Regions from separate parts of the Homo sapiens genome. Here region 1 is linked to region 2. The links are contacts of gene promoters, found by promoter capture Hi-C in human tissues and cell types (Jung and others, 2019). All regions are on one chromosome and are shown on one strand. Each heading gives the region's core, a stretch centred on a gene start or on the middle of the fragment in contact. The rest is flanking DNA. Distances are from core to core; before and after follow the strand shown.

Region 1 (6,497 bases), core at 3,634-6,133, 45 kb after region 2:
ATGCCCTCCCTTCTATGCAGGGGGGCAAGTTTACTGGATGGAGATGATTTGGGCCTCTCTTCCAGAAGAAGCTAAAGGAAGAGAAGGGGAGTGAGAGTTCAGGGAGGCCCTTCCCACCCTGTGAGGCTTGACTTGATCTGGATTGGGGATGACAGGAATCTCACCCTCTGGGGTGCTGGCAAGGAGGTCTTTGCACAGGAAAAGGGGTAGCTCATTTCAGTTTGTTTTTTCTTTAAATTGAATCCTCAAGTCATTTTCTGTTCACCTGCCGCACAGGGACAAGCTTGACTTCTATTTTCTGTGTAGTGAAAACAATGTCATTTATTTGGTTTTTCACCTCAGCCCTCTCATAGGAGCATAGAATGTTAGGGTCTTTACTCCCTAATGATGTCTGATTGGCACATCAAGAGTTAACTCTGCCTTCTGGGCCAAATTCGAAATAACCAGTCCATTTTTCCTTTTTTTTTTTTTTTTTTTTAAATGGTGGAATGTCTCTCAGCACAGTTGCGGCTTCCTCAAACCCTGAAAGCATCTGTGTTTATTATACTCGGGTGTCACTCACTGTTGATGTCTGCACCTACGTTTCCACCTCCTCCCCCTCCTTCAGCCAGCCTATGATAACACTAAAGATTATTAATGTTGGTTTTGTATCTCGTTAAAGACAGAATTGTCACTTGTAGTATTTCTGTAGCATTCAGCGCTGCTGTGGCTAACACCACTGTGTATGTTTCATCATTGCTCTGAAGGTCAAAAGCCTCATTTTATTTTGCTGGTTTGATTTTTTTTTTTTAAAGAAGAAAAAAAAACTGCCCTGAATTAAATGGCTGTTTTAACAGTAGGCTCTTAGCATTATACCACATAGTCATTTTTCATGTTCTTGTTTAACAGGCACTGAGGTTCTGGTTTAAATTAAATAGCTGCAAATGAGACAATTTATAACCCATTAGGTTGGGTGGAAAATTGTTTCTCAAAAGCAAATAAGTAATAAATCTGGTATCTGCCTATAACTCACAGTTGATAAGAAAGTGGCCATTTCTCACTAGCACTATATATGATTTGGGCTCTGGGTAATTTGGAAGTGTTAGGTTTGTGTCTTTGTAGCAGTATTTTTATTAGAAAAGAATCTATTGGCCTTTTACAGGGTATTAATCCCTTTGTCACCTACCATTGATGCCTTAAGTTTTCTGAGTCTCAATTAAAAATCTTCCTTTTCTTGATGCATGACAAGTGTAATCAGTACTTGCTCATTTATTTGTCTGTATTTAGTTTATGCTGTACTATTTAATTATCCTTCCAGCGTTTTTTTTTTCTCCTTACAAATATGATACTCTTTAGTGTTAAGCTAAGGCATTGATTCATGTATCTGTCCTTATAATGAATTAATAAACTATTTTCCAGAAATGTGGAATTCTCTTTTGGAACCATTGACCATGACTAGAATTTCCTCAGCCTTTGTGCCCTAGGGATTTTATTTCTTACTGTGATGGGAAATGATGTTGTTGTTGTTTTTGAGATGGGATCTCTCTGTCGCCCAGGCTGGAGTGCAGTGGCACAATCACAGCTCACTGCAGACTCAACTTCCTGGGTTCAAGCAGTCTTGTCACTGTAGCCTCCCTAGTAGCTGGGACTACAGGCACATGCCACCATGCCTGGCTAATATTAAAAAAAATTTTTGTTATAGAGATGTGGTCTCGTTATCTTACCCAGACTGGTCTCGAACTCCTGGGCTAAAACCATCCTCCTGCCCCAGCTTCGAAAAGTGCTCGATTACAAGCATGAGCCACTGCCTCTTGGCCCAAAATAGTGTTTTGTTTGTTTGTTTGTTTGTTTGTTTGTTTTTTCAGACTAATCTCACTTTGTCGCCTAGGCTGGAGTGCAGTGGCATGATCTCGGCTCACTGCAACCTCTGCCTCCCGGGTTCAAGTGATTCTCCTGCCTCAGCCCCCCGAATAGCTGGGATTACAGGCATGCACCACCACACCCGGCTAATTTTTGTATTTTTAGTAGAGACGGGGTTTCACCATGTTAGCCAGGCTGGTCTCAAACTCCTGACCTCAGGTAATCTGCCCGCCTTGGCCTCCCAAAGTGCTGGAATTACAGGCATAAGCCCCTGCGCCCGGCTCAAAATGGTGGTTTTTGAGGGTAAAAAGCAGGTGGTCATGGGAAAGAACTAAACCATCTTCCTCCCTCAACAGGCACTTAGGAAAAAGACGTAAACTTAGGAAAGATGTGTCCTTTGATGGCACTTCCTTAGACTCTCTGGGGATCTCTTTCCATCTGGGCACACATTTCTCTGAACTTTTTTGGGTGCAGGAAAGAGGGAACAACTCCAGAGATTTGGGCTCCACAACTATTCTCCTGTATAACTCTGGTCACCAAAATTACTCATGGCCACACAATCACACACACGTGCACTGTGTGTACAAGCTCAGAGACCCGCACATGCATACTTTGCCTTCACAAACACCCTTGTGTCTGTCCGTTAATGCAAATGTGCACACAGTCTCACACACAAAACTCCACACTCACACCCCACACACATCTTGGCATCACAGTTGGCAGCTGCTGTCTGCTAAGATCTTTACAGAGCCCGGAACATGCTTTCTATTGGAGGGAATCAAGAGCTAGAGGCTGCTTTGCTCAGGACCACCCCCAAAGTGGTGGGCCAGACCCAGAGTTAATTGACAGATCAGACAGAGAGATACTGCACATTTTGCACTCGGCAGAATAGCCATTATTTGCATATCACTCTCAGACCAAGGGTTGTGATAAAGAAGAATTAAACACTTGTCAAAATGAATTTAAAATGACAGCAATTCAAGAGACCAATTTGACCTCTTCAGAGTCCAGGACAAGCCAAGAAGGGGTTGTTGAGAATTCAAGCCCTGCAGGAGGGAGTTCCAGGATTTTAGGCCCAGGGAGGGCCCTTCCCCTCCCTTTCCTAAGGCCAGTAGACCACCACTCCCACCCTTTCTCACAATGAAATCCAATAGGGCTTTGGCACATTGGAGTCCTCCACCTAGAATTTTTCCATTGCTTCCCGCTGTTCACATGCCTCATGTCCTGCTTCTCAGGCTCATCTTCCAGTAGCTGCCCTAGAGTGAACAGTCCTGAGCTATGCCAACCTCATCATTAGTAAACCTGTCCATCTACAGGCACTCTGATTTCTGGAGGCCTGTACTTCCTTACTTATCCGTATCAAAGTTAGTTTTTTGTTTGTTTGTTTGTTTCGAGACGGAGTCTTGCTCTGTCGCCCAGGCTGGAGTGCAATGGTGCAATCTCAGCTCACTGCAACGTTTGCCTCCCGGGTTCAAGCTATTTTCCTGCCTCAGCCTCCCGAGTAGCTGGGATTACAGGCGCCTGCCACCACGCCCGGCTAATTTTTTTGTATTTTTAGTAGAGATGGTGTTTCATCACATTGGTCAGGCTGGTCTCGAACTCCTGACATCAGGTAATCCACCCGCCTCAGCTTCCCAAAGTGCTGGGATTACAGGCGTGAGCCACCGTTAGTTTCGTACATGGTCCCAAAGTTCCAGAGTTGGTATCAAAAGAAAGACTTAGTTTTTCCTCTGCCATCCCAGTCCAGTGCCAAAGGAGCAAATAGCTACATTAGGCCAACTTTTATTATTTATTTATTTATTGAGACAGGGTCTGTGTTGCCCAGGCTGGAATACAGTGGGACTCCAGGCATGCACCGCCATGCTTGGCTAATGTTTGTATTTTTTGTAGAGACAGGTTTTCACCATGTTGCCCAGGCTGGTTTTGAACTCCTGGGTTCAAGTGATCTGCCCACCTCGGCCTCCCAAAGTGCTGGGATTACAGGTGTGAGCCACTAAGCCTAGCCTGCCAGCTTTAATTCTCTAGCTCCTAGAACTTAGTAGCTGCTCAATAATTTTGATGGACTAGTCCATCATGCTGGACTCAACAGAAGACCATTTAATAGAGAGTGGCTGAGATTCAAGATCTCTGAGGGCTAGTATGGGTATGTCTCTGCTAAAAGACATGCTTATCTTCTGTAACATTCTCACGTGGGACCTCTGTTGTCTCCTTATATGTTCTCTGACATGAACGATTGAGGGCCTTCTTTGTGGCACAGAAACGTTACTGGGAATTTTAACTTTCTATGTGCTTTTCCAGTTACCAGGTCATTTGTCAGGACCTCTGCGGTTTAAAGGTCTCTAGGGATGAACAGGAGAGATAAGATTATTTTCATCTTTCAGATGAGCTCAGTGAGAGTGACTGGGCTAGGCAGCAGGCAGAACCCAGGTCGGAAGCCAGGCCCCTTTAGAGCTCTCATTGTCCTGCTGCTGGGTCTGCTCTCTCCAGGCAATCCTCCCCAGCGGAGCGCCAGGACTCCTCGGTCCAGAGAAGCCAAGCTTGCAGCTACAGGATCTATCCTTTGAGTGGAAGGACCAGAAATCCATGGAAAACTGAATCTTTGACAACTTTACGCAGCTTTTTAGAGAATTATCTCTAAAATATGGACTTGGAGGAGGGCGCAGCAGAAAGAGTGGGTCAGAGCAAATCCCGCAGCTGTGTGTCTTTCCGCAGCCCGGACCCACTCCCCAGTCCGCTGGTGTCCACTTCCTCAGCCCCCCAGGTCCCCGGCTGGCCCGCGGGGAGGGGATACCCGGCTGCAGCCCGGGACGGCGCCGGCCGCTCCAGCCACAGTTCAAAGCGCAGGGGGCGCGTCCGCCGCGCAGCCGGGAATGTCCGGCCGCTTAAAGCGCTCGCCGGCTCTTTTGTTCCCCAGACCGGGCCTCCGGGGAGAGGGGGCTGGGGGAGGGGACCGGGAGCAGAGAGGAGGGGGGCGGCGGGCTGGGGAGGAGGGCGGGGCGGCCGCGAGCGGTGCGAGTGTGGAGCGCGCACCCCGGGCGAGGCTGACAGATCGCCCGGGTGGGTGCAAGATGGCGCAAGCGGCGCTCCCCCTGCGCCCCCCGCGCTGCTGAGCAGGCATGCGGCCCCAGTCCCCCACCGCCTGGGCTCGGCCCCGGCCGGAGCCCCAGCCCCGGCCCCGGCGCCGGCCCCGCGGGACGCTGTGAGCCGCGAGAGGCCCGGGAGCCGCGCGTCGCCGAGCCGAGCTGACCGAGAGCCCCATGGCTGTGCAGCGCGCCGCGTCTCCGCGCCGCCCGCCCGCCCCGCTCTGGCCCCGGCTCCTGCTGCCGCTGCTGTTGCTGCTGCTGCCCGCGCCGAGCGAGGGTGAGTGAAAGCGCCCCGGACCGGGCGGTTGCGGACGGAGCCAGGGGAAGGGCGAGCAGGGAGGGAGCGGGCGCGAGGGGCGGACCCGGGGAGAGCGGCGCGGACCTGAGGGCGGACCCCGCGCGGGGGGGACCCTGCGGATCCGGACGGGGAGAGGGTACCAAGGCCGGACTGCTGGGGGCCCTAGGGGCGTGTTGAGGACGGAACCCCCCGGAGGAAGACTGGGGCAGGACCCGGAGCCCAGACTGAGGAGCAAGGAGTGCAGCGAAGCGGGAGCAAGCGGGGCGGGCTGGCGTGGAGACCGAGGGAAACGAGCCAGGGGAGACCGCAAGGCTAAGCGCTGACCGAGGCGGACGAGCTGGGGTGCTGGGTGCCCGGCCGTGGACATAGCCCGAGGCAGCCAAGACAGGGGACAGCAGCCTGGGGAGCGGAGACCGGGACTCTGACGGCTGCACTGGGCGGAGATGGCACGACCTGCATTTGGAGCTGGTACTGGGCTGAGGAGTGCGCGGGAGAGACAGGAGAAGACGAGGGAGATTCCTGGAGGGCGGCGCGTGGCTAGGGAGCGACCCGGGACAGAGCCCGTGAGCCAAGAAGGAGAGGAGAAGCCACCGAAAGCGAGAGCGAGCGAGCCGCGGGGATGCTCACGTGCCCCTGCCCTTCCCCGAAGTGTGCACACGCGGAGACCTTGCCCTGGCTCTCGCGGTCCGCCGGTTCTGCTGCCTGGAGCTCGGCTCTGCTGCCTGGAGCTCGGTCACCACCACTCTGTTCCCTTTAGTGGCTGCAATGGTCCCATCTCCCGGGAGGAGAGTGCAAATCTAGTCCCTTAACCCTCCCACCTCAAGTTCCCCACAGACACTCATCTGGGCTATTCTCTCTCCACTCCTCTCCCAAGAAGTAGAAGCTCGCGTCCGCATCAAGGAAAAACTTTATTCCCGACAGCTATACCAGGGTTGGATTCGGGGCTAAGACGGGTGAACTCACGACATGGGGAGGATGCGCAGGGGTTTGAATAAGTGCGATCCTAAAAAGTCTTAAAACATTACATCTTCCTGGGCCGGGGACGGGGGGAGGGGGGCGCGGGGGGCGCTGGGCGGGGAATGCCTATAACCCCAACGCCCCTCCTTTCTCCCCACCCATTTCCCCATCTCCCTCAGCCAGGGAGGGCCCTAGTCTGCTGGGGAGGGGCCAGCTCCAGGATCGCTAGTTATCTGGAAATGTGAGGAGGGGTCTGTGACTGCCATTTCAGACCAGGTGGGTTCATTCCTCCTCGAGTGGAGTTGTAACTGGTCTGGTAA
Region 2 (6,461 bases), core at 3,239-5,738:
AATTAAACAGTGTATAAATGACCAAGTATGAAAATAAGTTAAAGCTGTTTAATGATAAAAACCATGACAGTGAACCATGTTTATCTGAGCATGTTCCTCGACCCTCCACTAACCACCACCCTGGAACACCCCATACACCCTTGGAAGCTTTCCATGTTACCAGCTGAAAGAGGAAAATAATAGAATATTTTATTATTGATTTTTTTTTTTTGAGACAGAGTTTAGCTCTTGTTACCCAGGCTGGAGTGCAATAGTGCCATCTTGGCTCACTGCAACCTCTGCCTCCCGGGTTCAAGCGATTCTCCTGTCTCAGCCTCCCGAGTAGCTGGGATTACAGGCATGTGCCACCACGCCTGGCTAATTTTTGTATTTTTAGTAGAGACGGGGTTTCATCATATTGGTCAGGCTGGTGTCGAACTCCTGACCTCAGGTGATCCGCTCGCCTCAGCCTTCCAAAGTGCTGGGATTACAGGCATGTGCCAGCCACCATGCCCAGCCTGATTGATTTTTAAAAACACATTAAAACAGGTGCTATATCCACTTTTAATGTTGTGAACTCTTTGGAACTGGTTAGAAATGTGCATCATACCCCAACCCTTTTGTCTCAGTGATGAAACTGAGGCCCAGAGAGAGGATGGAAGTTGCCCAAGGTCATGCAGCAAGTCTGTAACCAAGGCAGGACAAGAACTATGGTTCTTACTCCTGCTGGGCTTGGCTGGCCTGAACCTGTAACTCTATCCCTCCTCCTCTCACATTTACTCCCTACCCAGAGCCCATGTAGTGAGATATGAATATAGATAAATTAATTAGATTTTTGTATGTGGCTGGTAGAATTAGTCTCTCTATATGGCAACACCTTGTTCATTCATTCAATTGACAAATCAATTGCTTTCTAGATAACATATGAGGCCAGTCCATCTGGCCCTGGCCTCCCTGTTTGGCTTCATGTCCTGCCCCTGCTCCCCTGCCCAGTCCACACCTCCTGCACTCTGCTTACATTGTCTTTCCTGTAAGACTTCTCTGCTTCCCCCAGGTCTGGCCCGAGTGCCCCTCTTCCCTGTACCCCATCACAGACTGTATCACACTTGTCCATCTCCCTCAGTAGCCTAAGCACCATTCAGGCAAGATTCCTCTTGTTCGCCAGTCTGCTCCCAGTGCCCAGAGCAGGGCCTGACCCATAACAGGTACCCCTTGAATCAATGATTGGATATGCCATTTCCAGGCAGGAAGAGCACACTTCCCTGTGCTCTCACAGCCCAGGGCCTCTGCAGAGGGAGTTTCTTGACCACCCTGTCAGTTCTAGCCTTTTAAATTGTCCAGACCCATGTCAAACATCCACAGGTCTGGCCCGAGTGCTCCTCCTCCCTGTACCCCATCACAGACCGTATCACACTTGTCCAATCAATAGTTCTGTGAAGCCTTCCTTCTCAACCTCCATGTCCCCCCACCCCACACACGGTAAATCCCTCCTCCTTTTGTTCCATCCTCCCTGCCACCCCATGCCACTTAGGACACTACTATCCTTGTGGGCAGGGACTTGTATTTTTTATCCAGGTCCCCTGGCACCTACACAGTGTGAGATACTGATTTAGGTGCTTAGCATTCAGCAGTGAACCTAGCAAACAAAAATCCCTGTCCTCATGAAGCACACATTGTGATTGTGAGGGGTGGGGGAACAGATCGAAAATAAGTAAAATGTAGAGCATATTAGTAAGTTACAAGTGTTGGCCGGGCGCAGTGGCTCATGCCTGTAATCCCAGCACTTTGGAAGGCCGAGGCAGGTGGATCACCTGAGGTCAGGAGTTCAAGACTAGCTTGGCCAACATGGTGAAACCCCGTCTCTACTAAAAATACAAAAAATTAGTCGGGCATGGTGGCAGGCACCTGTAGTCACAGCTACTCGGGAGGCTGAGGCAGGAGAATCTCTTGAAACCAGGAGGCGGAGGTTGCACTGCGCTGAGATCGTGTCACTGCACTCCAGCCTGGGCGACAGAGCAAGACTCTATCTCAAAAAAAAAAAGAAAGAAAAAAAGAAAGTGACAAGTGTTGGCCAGGCGTGCTGGCTCACGCCTGTAATCCCAACACTTTGGGATCCAAGGCAGGTGGATCACTTGAGGTCAGGAGTTCGAGACCAGCCTGACCAAATGATGAAACCCCGTCTCTATTAAAAGTACAAAAAGTTAGCTGGGCATGTAGTCCTAGCTACTTGAGAGGCTGAGACCCAAGAATCACTTGAACCCAGGAGGCGGAGGTTGCAGTGAGCCACTGCCCTCCAGCCTGGGGGACAGAGTAAGACTCTGTCTCAAAAAAAAAAAAAAAAGAAGAGAAAAAGAAAGAAAATAAAATAAAAAAGAAAGTGACAGTTAAAGACAAGAATAGACAGCAGGGAAGGAGGATAGGAAGAGTAGGGGGTGAGGCTGTGAGAAAGCCTTTATGGTATCCAGTATGAGGGAACAGATCTCTAGACTTGCACTGGCCGGACAAAGGTCTTGAGGCTGGAGGGGAGGAGGCTGCCCGCGATCAAGTTACAGCAAGGAGGATGGTGTGGCTGGAGAGGTGGTGAGCACAGGGGGTGGTGTCGAAGGGGAGGTCAGAGAGGTAGAGCAAGCCTACAGATCAGATAGGCCTTGTGGGTCACAATAAGGACTTTGGCTTTTGCTCTGACATAGGAGCCGCTGGTGGGTTTCTAGCAGAGAAGTGGCATGATCTCATTTTAACAGGAGCACTCTGGCTGCTGTATTGAGAAAACACTCAAGGAGGACAAGGACAGAAAAAGATCAGTGAGGAGTTTGCTGTGACAATCCAGGTGAGAGGCGACGGGTCTTGGACCAAGGCCACAGTGAGAAAGTGGAGGGTGAAGCATCTGAACATGAAGAGTAGGAGATGACTCTACATTTTTTTTTAATAGAAATGGGGGTCTCGCTATGCTGGCCAGGTTGGTCTTGAACTCCTGGCCTCAAGCGATCCTCCCACCTCGGCCTCCCAAAGTGCTGGGATTACAGGCGTAAGCCACCAAGCCTGGCCTCTACATTTTTGACCTGGGCAACAGGAAAGGAACTGAGATGAGGAAGACTGTGGGAGGAGAAAGATTGATAGAAAAGATCAGGATGAGTTTGTCTACTAGACAGCTAAAGGAACTGGGGCCTGGATGGCTGGATACAGAAGTCCAGGGTTCAGGAAAGATGGTCTAGGCTGAAAGTATACATTTGGGCATCATTAGCATAAAGATGCTCTTTAAAGCCTTGAGGACCAGATGAGATCACTAAGGGAAGCAAGTGTTTCAAGGAAGAGGGAGTGATTCACTAAGTCAAATGCTGCTGATAGGGCAAGTGAAGATGGGGCGTGGCAATGAATGAATAAACGCCAGGCCTGTTAGATATGCAAAGCGCCAGTGATTATTGAGGGTTAACTGACAACAGACAGGTGTAGAGACAAGATGGCTCTAAGTCACAGGAACACTTAGAGACACAGGGAAGGGAAGAACTATGGCATCTTGGAGTTGGAAAGGACCTTAACTAGGTCATTGAATCTGTACTCTTTTCCCCACCCTAGCCTGACAATTGAACCCTTGGCTGTAGAACAAGAAATATTTGCGGGATACTGAGGCAAACAGTCTGGCTAGGTAGGTTAGAGAAAGTACCGTTGAAGAATGAGAAAAAGGGTACTTCAGTAAATGCTGGACAGCAGAGGCAGGGTGAGGGAGTGGAGATGACCTTCCGAAGTCAGAAAACCAAGGTTCAGGTCCTGTATCTGCTGCTCCCTAGCCTCCTGTCCTTGGGCAAGTCACTTCACCTTCTCCAGCCTCAGTTTCCCCATGCGGCGACATCTGAATATGGTAGTGCTTGAAGGTAGTGTAAAAGTGTCCTGCCTGTGTTAGTTACTGCCAGAGCAAGGGAAGGAGGCCAAGAGAAGCCCTTGGTTTGGGATGGCAGATAGGACTATCAAGATCTCCGCAGGTGGGCTGGCGCAACGTGTGGAGAAGCGAACCAGCATTCAGGCCAGGACCTGGGCTGGAATGGACTGGGCTCGGGTGGCAAGGGGGCCATCTGGACAAAGACCGTGGCCCTGAATCTGCCTCCCCTGAGCCTGGAACGGAGGTGGAGACCCCGAGGCAGCAACAGGGAGAAGAAATAGAGACGCTGAGGCAGAGAGACCAGAAGACTCAGAGACGGGGAGACTAAGAGACAGACCCAGCAACAGGCGGCCTCACGGGGGCCCGCGGCGACCCGGAGAGGGCGAGGCACCGGGACACAGACCCGGGCCGAGAGGAGCCCCCGCGAGGCGCAGGGCCGTGGCGCGCGGGCGCAGGGTCCCCGGCGGGGCCAGGGTGGCCACACTCGCCGGGCGCCCCCTCCCGGGCCGCTCGCCCAAGATGGCGATGGAGGGGCGGGTGAGGCGGCAGCGGCCCTGGCCCCCGCGCCGGCCCCAGCTCGGGCCCGGGCCCCCGAGGCCGCGCCCCCGCCCGCGGCGCCGCGCCTCCCCGGGCCACTGACGCCCGGCGCGCTCTCCCCCCGCGGCGGCGGCCGAAGCACGGGGAGGCGGCGGCGGCGGCGGCGGCCCGAGCCCAGCCCCATGGCGCGGGGGGACGCCGGCCGCGGCCGCGGGCTCCTCGCGTTGACCTTCTGCCTGTTGGCCGCGCGCGGTAAGGGCGGGCGCCCGGAGAGGCAGGAGCGACTGCGGAGTGCTGGTGCGCCCGCGCCCTGGTCTGCATCGGGCTGCGGGGCTGGCTCAAGCCGGAGTCCCGAGCAAGTGCGGGGGCTGCGCGTCCAGGTGCCCGCGATGCCTGCGCGGGGGTCTGCGAGCTGCGGCCGGGGGGCGTTTGTGGGGCGTGCTTGTCCGCAGTGGGTGTGTGCCTTTGGTTCGCAGAGTCTGGAGTCGTGTGTGTGTGTGTGTGTGTGTGTGTGTGTGTGTGTGTTGGGAGTGCTCCTGTCGTGTCCGCAGTGCGTGCCATGGTCGCGGCGTGGCATCGGCGGGGCGGGTAGCTGCGGTGTCGGTGGCTTTCGCGGGGCGGGCTCTGCCTTGCCTGCGCGTGTCTTGGGTTGAGAGTGTGTGTAAAAGAGGAGGGAACTGGGGTTGTGTCTGCACCTCCATTTGGGTCGGGTGCGTGTGCAATTGTGTTTATGGGGCTGAGCTAATATTTGGCCTTGGCATTTGGGAAGTGTCCTTGCCCATAGTGGGGGACAGAGCGATGGATCCCGTTTGACTGGGGGTGGTGGTGATAAAACAACACTCAACTTTGCCCAGTGGGTGTGGTCCCTGGGGCCGGTTAGAGAGGGGTAGAGGGAGGTGTTGCTCCCCAAAACCTGTGGCCAGCAGTGGACTGGGGGAGGGGGCAGGAAACCATTTGCTTTCGTGGACATGTCCAGCGCTTGTTCTCACGATGGGACGCGTGTCACCCCGGCCCCACCCCCCAGGGACCGACCAGGGAAGCGTGGACGAGGTCAGCAGGGCCTCATCCAGTCCGCAGCCCAGTGCGGAGTGGGTACGGGGTAAGTCAGAGTTGTCCAAGCTGGAGAAAGGGCTGGGGAGGGGATAGCGAAGTCCCCAAGGGTGTGTGTCTAGGGCTGCGGCTTCCACCCACAGCTCTGTCGCTTCCTGTCCGGTGTGCGTTTGGGGGCGGCTCATGGGGAGTGTAGGTGGCAGGGCTGGGAGGGGGATGGGCTGGCCGCTTTGTTCGCCTAGTTCTTGCCTTCCCCGCGGAGGGGGGAGCTGAGGATGTGTCCGGGGAGAGTCGGGGAGGGACTTGGAGGTGGGGGTGGGGAGGGGGATTTCTCTCCAGCTGCTGCGGCTTTCCAGAGAGACTCAGCCAGGCCACGTGGGAGGGAGGCGGGGGGAAGGAGCCTCCGCCTGGCCAGCCCCAGGCCCATCTCCAGGAAAACCAAACAGCGGGTGGGAAAGTGCCGGGAACTCCTCGGACCCCTTCTGTCCCTACAAAGACACGCCCCTTTCCAGCCCCAACAGCGGATTAAGCTGGAGGCCGCCGCGAGGCTGGGTCTCGGCTGCTGGGCCAGAGGAGCTGGAGGCCCTGGCTTGTCAGGTGAAAGGGGCGGGGAAGTGTCAGAGAGAGGTCTGTCTTCCCAGAGCTCAGGGGATTAAGGAATAGTTCCCCTGCCCCACCTTCCGCTATTCCTAGGGCTCCTGGAACGAGCTCAGGGTCACCCAGCTAAACGGCATCAGGGCTGGGAACCGCACCGGCGCATTATTCAATACCTTTAGGACCTGCCGCGAGGGACCCAGCTTCCCTGGCCTCTCCCTGCTCCCGAACGCACAAAGCAGGCGAGGGACCGAGTTGCGGCGTCTCTTGGTTGCAGTGTGAGTGGCTACAACAGCTTGCCCTGGTCCTCCAAATCTCAGCAGGCCGGGGGACACTCCAGTCGAGTCATGACTAGCCACCCTGATCTGTACTGAGGTCATTCATTCGTTCAACAAATATTTATGGAGCACCTTTTATAGGCTAGCTT

The links. Contacts are between HindIII fragments. The study calls those that stand out against the background at their distance.
Region 1: a contact is called between the fragment with the promoter of IGDCC3 here and the fragment with the promoter of IGDCC4 in region 2, in 1 of the 25 tissues and cell types used here (mesendoderm cells).

The regions. Positions count from the first base shown.
Region 1 is chr15:65,376,388-65,382,884 of GRCh38, reverse strand. IGDCC3 (immunoglobulin superfamily DCC subclass member 3) reads left to right here and starts at 4,883. Exons shown (of 14, transcript NM_004884.4): 1 at 4,883-5,199. The coding sequence starts at 5,097. IGDCC4 (immunoglobulin superfamily DCC subclass member 4) reads left to right here. Exons shown (of 20, transcript NM_020962.3): 20 at 1-1,401. The HindIII fragment of the contact is 8,726 bases long and covers 2,331-6,497 here.
Region 2 is chr15:65,420,974-65,427,434 of GRCh38, reverse strand. IGDCC4 (immunoglobulin superfamily DCC subclass member 4) reads left to right here and starts at 4,488. Exons shown (of 20, transcript NM_020962.3): 1 at 4,488-4,642. The coding sequence starts at 4,573. RefSeq lists enhancers at 3,676-4,210, 5,186-5,455, 5,476-5,585. The HindIII fragment of the contact is 12,230 bases long and covers 1-6,461 here.